Linked DNA regions of Homo sapiens: region 2 is linked to region 1. Evidence: promoter capture Hi-C in human tissues and cell types (Jung and others, 2019). All regions are on one chromosome and are shown on one strand. Each heading gives the region's core, a stretch centred on a gene start or on the middle of the fragment in contact. The rest is flanking DNA. Distances are from core to core; before and after follow the strand shown. Region 1 holds the start of IGF2R (insulin like growth factor 2 receptor). Region 2 overlaps SLC22A3 (solute carrier family 22 member 3).

What was found. The method cuts DNA at HindIII sites, captures the fragments that hold promoters and counts their contacts. A contact is called where the count stands out against the background at its distance.
Region 2: a fragment that was not itself captured here is called in contact with the fragment with the promoter of IGF2R in region 1 in 1 of the 25 tissues and cell types used here (H1 embryonic stem cells).

The regions. Positions count from the first base shown.
Region 1 is chr6:159,966,487-159,970,449 of GRCh38, reverse strand. IGF2R (insulin like growth factor 2 receptor) reads right to left here and starts at 1,368. Exons shown (of 48, transcript NM_000876.4): 1 at 1,055-1,368. The coding sequence starts at 1,203. RefSeq lists silencers at 748-877, 898-1,177, 1,188-1,807. The HindIII fragment of the contact is 6,621 bases long and covers 1-3,026 here.
Region 2 is chr6:160,354,692-160,358,245 of GRCh38, reverse strand. All of the region lies in intron 1 of SLC22A3 (solute carrier family 22 member 3), which reads right to left. Among named protein-coding and RNA genes, the nearest start is that of SLC22A3, 8.1 kb to the right of the region's middle. The HindIII fragment of the contact is 4,722 bases long and covers 1-3,554 here.

The sequences.
Region 1 (3,963 bases), core at 119-2,618:
CCCCATAAACCCTACCACAAACTCCAAGTTCAGCCCAAAGTAGGCTCAACTTTGTTTCACTCTGAAAAGTAACTTGTAAAAGTAACTTGTAAAAGTAACAGTAACAGGGAGAAACTGTTGTCTGTTCAAAACTTTTCATCCTGCTTCCTTTTTACCAAAGTTTAAAAAAATAAACAAAAGCTGAATTTTCCATCATCCTAAACAGTCCAGAAAAGGATGGTCAGAAAATTCCTGAAATTCGAAGTTCCCCAGGCCCTGGACTGCTAGCAGTTGCGCGAGGTGAACAGCCCTCGATGGGACTGATGGGTTATACAATCATGGTTCCCAGAGCAAGATCCACTAGAATAATCCGCCCCGGAGACAATGACATCATGTGAGCAACCAGGCAGGAAGTTGGGCTCAGAGAAGTGAAGGGTCAAGTCTTGAAAGCTCACACTGGACGACACCCCCTGCCCCCAATCTAAAGAAGACAAAAGTCACCGCCTGCTAAAAATATATATATATATATATTCTTTAAAGAGAAAATGAGCCCACGGGGGGAAATCAATCAGCAAATGAAACCACAAACACTCAACTCCAGGACCATTCCTGCGGGCTCCAACGCCCCGGTGAGCCTCTCCACACCGAGGGGCCTCACCGGTGCCCCGCTGGCGAAACTCTGATGCAAACGCGCAGCGGGAACAAAGCAAACTGGAGTTCCTGCCTCCAACTTTCCCGGACGCCCGGCCGCGCGAGGGCAGGCGCCGACCCCAAGGGCCGGGGCGACCGCTCCGCACAAAGCCACCCCCGACTCAGCGACAGCCACAAGTGGCCGGACGCGGGGCTCCAGGACCGCCACGACCGCGTGTGCCCCCGCGCCCCCCGCCTGCGCACGGGACCCGGCGGGACTCGCGGACACCACGCAGGCAACTTTCCCTCGGGAACGGGGCGGACCCCGGCGCGGAACGGAGGCGACTTGGAGACCCCAGGAGCTCCTCGAGCGCTCCCCGCCCCCCACGCCGGCCGCTCACCCCGGGCACCGCGAGCGGAGCCTGCGTCCGGGCGGGCCACCCACCTGCACAGCTCGGGGAACGGGGCGGCCTGGGCCTGCGTGGACCCCGGGGCAGCGACGAGCAGCAGCAGCTGCAGCAGGAGCAGAGAGCGCTGCGGGCGGCGGGCGGGCGCGGGCCCCAGGTGGGGGCTCCGGCCGGCGGCGGCCCCCATCGCGCCGGGCCCGGACTGCGCGGCGGGCGCGAGGCTAACGGCGCGCGACTGCTGGGGGCCGCGCCCGGGACGGGGTCGCGCCGCCAGGGCAAAGGCGGAGGTGGAGACGGAGCGGGAGCCCGAGGTGAGCGCGGCTCGACTGGGCTCGGCGACAGCGACAGCGGCAGCGGCGGCCCCGGAACCGCGTCACGTGACAGCCGCCCGGCACCGCCCCCCCACCCCCGCCCCCCGCTCACGTGACTCCCTTGTTCAGGTGACCCCCGCCCGCCCCGGCTCCTCCCAGGCCCGGGTCACGTGAGCGCAGCGCGCGGGACAGGAAGCGGCGCGGGCGGGGCGCAGGCTCCAGGTGCCTCCCGGGGCCTGAGCCTCTCGGCGGGCTGGGCGCGGCGGGGGTGCCTAGCCGGGCCTCAGTTTCCCCTCCCACCGCGCCCTGCTGGATCGTGGCGGGTGCTTCCCAGGTTAGAGCAACTGTTCCCAACCTCGATCGACCAGTAGGGGAAAATAGGGAACTTGGATCAAAGTGCCAGGGAGGTAAATGCCTTCGCACAGCCTAGTGGCAGCGGATCCGTGGGGGGTGGGAACACACTTTAACTGCCCGTGGAGTCAAATCATGGGGGTTTACAACCTTGGCCCGTCAGAGCCTCTCAGACCTTCTGTGGGAATGTTATTTCCCAAGCGTGGGCTTCCTACAGCAAGGAAGGCAGCACAAATCCAGCAAGGTGAAAGAGTGGACAAAAGTGTCGCTGTCAAGCAAGTGCCACTCAACAAAGCTTTATTAATTCACTACGTGGATGGCCATGAGCTAGCCACAATGAAAGTAGAACGATGAATCTAAAAGTCTTGAACTAAAAAAATTCACTTTCTTTTAGAGTAAATATACAAAATAATCATGACTGAAAATAGTAATCATCATCATCATAAAAGCTCATCTTTTTTAGTGCTTATTCCATACCAGACACTGCTAAGCATGTAAGCATGAATCTTTAAAAACCTATGAGATGGGAACCTACTTATAGATGAGGAATTGAGGCACAAGGATACTCAGTGACTTACTCAAAGACACTCTGGGATGTGGCAAAGCTGGAATTCAAACACATATAAATAATCATGACCCAATAATAGCTAACATTTCTTGAGCAAGTAATTATGTACGAAGTACTGAAGTGTTCGGACACTGTGATTTAGCTCATTTAATCCTAACAGTCCTGTAAGAGGGGGTGCCTTTATTGCATCCGTTTTGCAGATAAGGAAAGTGAGGAATGGAGAAATTAAATAACTAGTTAGTCTTGCAGCTAGTAAGTGAAAAAGCCCGGGTTTGAGCCCAAGCCAGTCACAGGCCTGTGACATAACCACCGTGCTATTAATATATTGCCCAAGAAAAGAAAGTGTTGTAGTGGGTCAAAGGGAGAGCTCAGGTGTAAACTGTGGACGTCGAAAAAGGGTTTGTGGTGACCGGGCGCGGTGGCTCGCGACTGTAAACCCAGCACTTTGGGAGGCCAAGGCGGGCGGATCACAAGGTCAGGAGATCGAGACCATCCTGGCTAACACAGTGAAATCCCATCTCTACTAAAAATACAAAAAATTAACCGGGCGTGGTGGCACACGCCTGTAGTCCCAGCTACTCGGGAGGCTGAGGCAGGAGAATCGCTTGAACCCAGGAGGCAGAGGTTGCAGTGAGCAGAGATCGTGCCACTGCACTCCAGCCTGGGAAACAGAGCGAGATTCCATCTCAAAAAAAAAAAAAAAGAAAAAGGGTTTGTGTTTTGCAACTCCAGTGTTATAATGGATACAGGCAAAGACCATCAGTAAATACTAAAACCATCTGGTGAAAAATTATTGTGAAGCGGAATATTCTCTTTGTCTCAAAGTATCACCTTCAAAGTATACTTCCTTAAAAAACACAAAATACCTCTTCACAATGGAAAGATCTGGTAGAACCACCTTAATCAAGTAATTAAAACTAGTATCACCAATTTTTAAAAAACTAGCATTTTCTGCTTTCTAAAGTGATGCAATAAAAAATGCTAAAGGGTAATATTTAAAAGATGGTATAATCATGACTCAGATGTAGAATGAACATGTATCAAAGGTATTCCTTAGCTCATTCATTAATGTGAGAACCGGTAACATGTCACAGCTGGTTCAAAGGAAAATCCAAGGAGAATCCAACAAATATTCAAGCAGTTAGGAATGCTGAAATAAGGTTGTCTATAGATGGAAAATTGGTCAGTAACCATAGGTCAAAAAACAGCTGCGTACGCAATAGACACAATTTGCATTTCTAAAGACAAAAATCGTGTATATTACCATCAGTAGTCTACAATTTACAGAGTTGTAAAATACCTCAAAGACAGTGGCAGACACAAGACCCCATAGAATCAGATAACCCAAAAGACTGTACTAAACAGCTAGCATTCCATTACAGTTGACCACTAATATTTTTGGTCCATTTCAAAGTCTTTCACAGTTATTCCCTACCGTACACACTATCACAAGTAGTCTTGCCAAGAAGTTCAACTTAATCTAATTGAGATAAAACAATCAAATTCAAACTGTGAAACATATGACAAGAAAACTGAACTGGACTATTGCAAAATATTAATGCGCTGAAAAAACAACTCTCCTCCAAAAAAAAAAAGAGAAAAAAAGTGGAAGTGCTACTCTAAATCCATGTAGCAAGCAATAACCTGTGGGTCAAATGTGGTAAGGCAGCTGTTTTGTAAATAAAGTTTTGTGGGAATACGGCCACACCCATGTGTT
Region 2 (3,554 bases), core at 360-2,859, 390 kb before region 1:
CAGAGCTCAAAAACCCTCAAATTCAGCCATTTGCTTGCATCCACAAAACTAGGAAGTCTACGTTCTTAGCCACCTATTTGCCTTAGCAATACACTACACTAAACCAGTTTGGATCTAAAATTTGATAATTTTTTCACAAAACTCTGCAACAATAAATTGTTATTATCTAATGATCTCTGGAGTTGATAAATAGACAATTTTATTTGGTTTTATAATGTATTCAACTTGGTTGGAATTAAAATAAAAATCATTATGTATGCTCTATTAGATACAGACTGGATAGGGAATTGTAGCAATCTTACAAGGATGCTAGGAGCTGACAAGAGATGTGATAAATTTGTCACATAATTTCCCACTAACTGCCACACAGGAAGATCAAGAACCTCTGTGGAAAAGGTTCCTGGAACACTTTCTTACACTCTAATAACTTGGACATTTATTTATTTGATTTCTTTAAAGTTGATGCCAAATTAATCTGAATTAGTTTCAATCTAATTTTCTCCTCTACCCTGGGTAGTTAATGTTTTTAACTATCCAGGTGACTTCTCTATGGGTATTTTCTTTAAGATACTCATTTGTGAACAATTAAAGGGCATTCATTTCTCAACAGATATTTGCAGTGCATTGCTTTTTAAAACGTCATCAATATTAAACGTGCAGGCTGTTTTCACCACAACCACTTAATCCCCATAAATGTGCTACAAACAGTTTTTAGTATAGGAGCTCCTGGCACCTTGTCCCTTCGGTTTCTGTCTCAGAAGCATCAGCTTACGGCGTCCCTCCCCACTAGCCTGGAAGCACACATGTTGTCTTTCATTTTGTGCTGTCGATTGCCCAAAGCTTCCCGTTGGCAGAAGTGTCATGAAATCAGAGCCATCCTGTGTGTATGCTAGGTGGACGCAGCAACTGGGAAAGGCTTCTGGGACGCTTTTCCATGTTGGGACCAGTGGTCTCTGTTAATGGAAAGCCAAAGACTTGCTTATCACTTGGTTATCTCCACTGCTGGTGCCCTATAGCAGTCCTATGACAGAGGTCACCTGCTCTCCCAGGACTGAATTTGAAAGCAGAATAGGTGCCTTTGTTTCTCAGGTCCAGGCTTGTGCCTACCCTTCCTCCATCCAGTGGTTTCCACTATGCTCACAGTCAAGGACAGCTCCCCTCCTTGGACTCTACAGGGCACTAGAATCTAGAGCAGATGTTAAGGAAGGTGGGATGGATGCCTGCCCCAGAATTGTTTAAATTACATTTATTTATTCACCTTCTTCTAAGCCCCTAAACTTCACCCCTCACTAATTTTCTCTATTATCACACAAGTACCAGCCACAGAGTTATTTTGCTTTATTACCAACACGAAGAGAAATAACAGCATGGTAACCCTTAAAAAGCTGTTACTGATCTCACCCAGATAAAACAGTATTAGCCATGATTTGACAAGCTCAACAGTCATTTATCATTTTAAAAAGCCACACCAAAGACCATTAAAACTTTGCTTTTTCCTCACAGAATATAAATACATGTCCTTTCTTGGTTATGATTTAAGAGGGGGTGGGGAAAAAACCGAGGCAGAATGTTGGAAAGGTTTTAGTTTGTTTTGGAAGGTAGGTGGTGTTTGCTCCCCACTCCATAGCCATGAAGGGGACAGCGCTGCACCCTGGGAGCTGCTCAGCCCAGGCCCTTCAGTGCTCCTCCCTGCACCGGGCCTTGCACCTGTGCCCAGCTGCCCTGGAGCAGGCTCGATTGATGACACAGACTACTGTGTGGTGCCAGGACAGCTGGGAAAAGTCTCTTCTGCACAATGGACGTCAGCACATTAAAATTATGGCCCCAAAGAGCCAGCAGTTCTATTCCTTCCTGTCCCTTTCATGTTCCAGGTCACACCCCCTACATTAGGATTCTGCGGACACAGACCCCATGAGCAGATAGGAGTCAAGTAAAGTGGAGGCCTGTTTTCCTCCTGCTCCAGAGGTCTGCGGGCGGCCATGGCCGCCGATGATTGTTCACCCTGTGACTGATCACACCTCATGGATGCAAGGCAGAAGATGATGAAGGCGGAGGATGAGGCAAGGAATCGGCGTTAGGAGTCAACAGGAAGCAACACCATCGGTAGAGGGCCTGGGTTAATCTCTGAAAGCCAATTCCAGGGTTGGCCTAGCCATGGTCATAAAAAGCATTACACGTGCCAAGGAATCCCTTTCTCTTTCATTCATTAATTTAATCACAAATATTTGCCAAACACTGCGTTAGGCTAGGAGGGCAGAGCGCCGGCCCTCCAGCACCTCAGAGTCTGATGAGGCAGTGAGCACAAGATGAGTAGAGGGAAGGCAGCTAGACAGATAAAGGAAGCCAAGCCCAGCCCTGGGTAGAGGCAGCAGTGGGGAAGGTGTGTCTGGAATTGGTGTGTGTAAAGGTACAAAACGGAACAGCCTCATGAGAAAAGACAAGTTTTTTGTTGTTGTTGTTGTTGTTGTTGTTTTGAGACAGAGTCTCTAACTGTCGCCCAGGCTGGAGTGCAGTGGTGCGATCTCAGCTTACTGCAAGCTCCGCCTCCCGGGTTCACGCCATTCTCCTGCCTCAACCTCCCCGGTAGCTGGGACTACAGGCAGCCGCCACCATGCCTGGCTAATCGTTTTTGTATTTTTTTTTTTTTTAGTAGAGACGGGGTTTCACCGTGTTAGCCAGGATGGTCTCGATCTCCTGACCTCGTGATCTGCCCACCTTGGCCTCCCAAAGTGCTGGGATTACAGGTGTGAGCCACCGTGCCCGGCCGAGGAAAGACAGGTATTTTGAGGAAAGGAAAGGAAACAGCGCACACAAGAGCCCAAGGGGAGGACAGCTGTGGCACATGTCCCAGGGTGACTGCCTGGAGAGTGGGAGCCCCGGGGGCTAAGAGAGGGAAAAGCCTCTATAGGCGGAGACATGGGGTGGAGGCACAGAGACCTTGTGTACCAGACCTAGGGGAGGATGCTCTTAGAGGCACCAGCCTCCATACCATTTTGTCAGGTGCCCACAGCCTCGTGACCTGTGCCCTGCCAGGAAGCACACTAAGATGCTGTATGAGTCAGAGCAGCCTAACAGGAAGAGCTGCAACAAGCAGTCTCCCAAGCCTCAGTTGTGTAACACAATAAAGCTTATTTCTTATTCGCAATCCCATATTCCTGTGCAGATGAATTGGTGTGGAGGGGAGCTGTGGGGCTCCTGCCTGCCTCGCATGCCTCCAGGAACGCATATCCTTCCGTGTAAGAGTTCCACCATCCTCCGGGGACTGCAGGAGGAAGGTTGCTCCGGCTCCAGGCTTAGCAGTTCCACATTCACTTCCCCAACATCACTGACCAGGACTCAGACACGTGGCCTCTCTAGCTTCAAGGGAAGCTGGGAAATATGACCTACCTGTGGGGTCCAGTGGGAAAGTATCGGTATTCTCAGCCTTTAGAGCAAATTAGTGTCCGAGATATTTTATTTTATTTTTTAGAGACAGGGTCTTCCTCTGTCACCCAGGCTGGAATACAGCAGCACAGTTCGACCTCCTGGGTTCAACCTTCTGAGTAGATAGGACT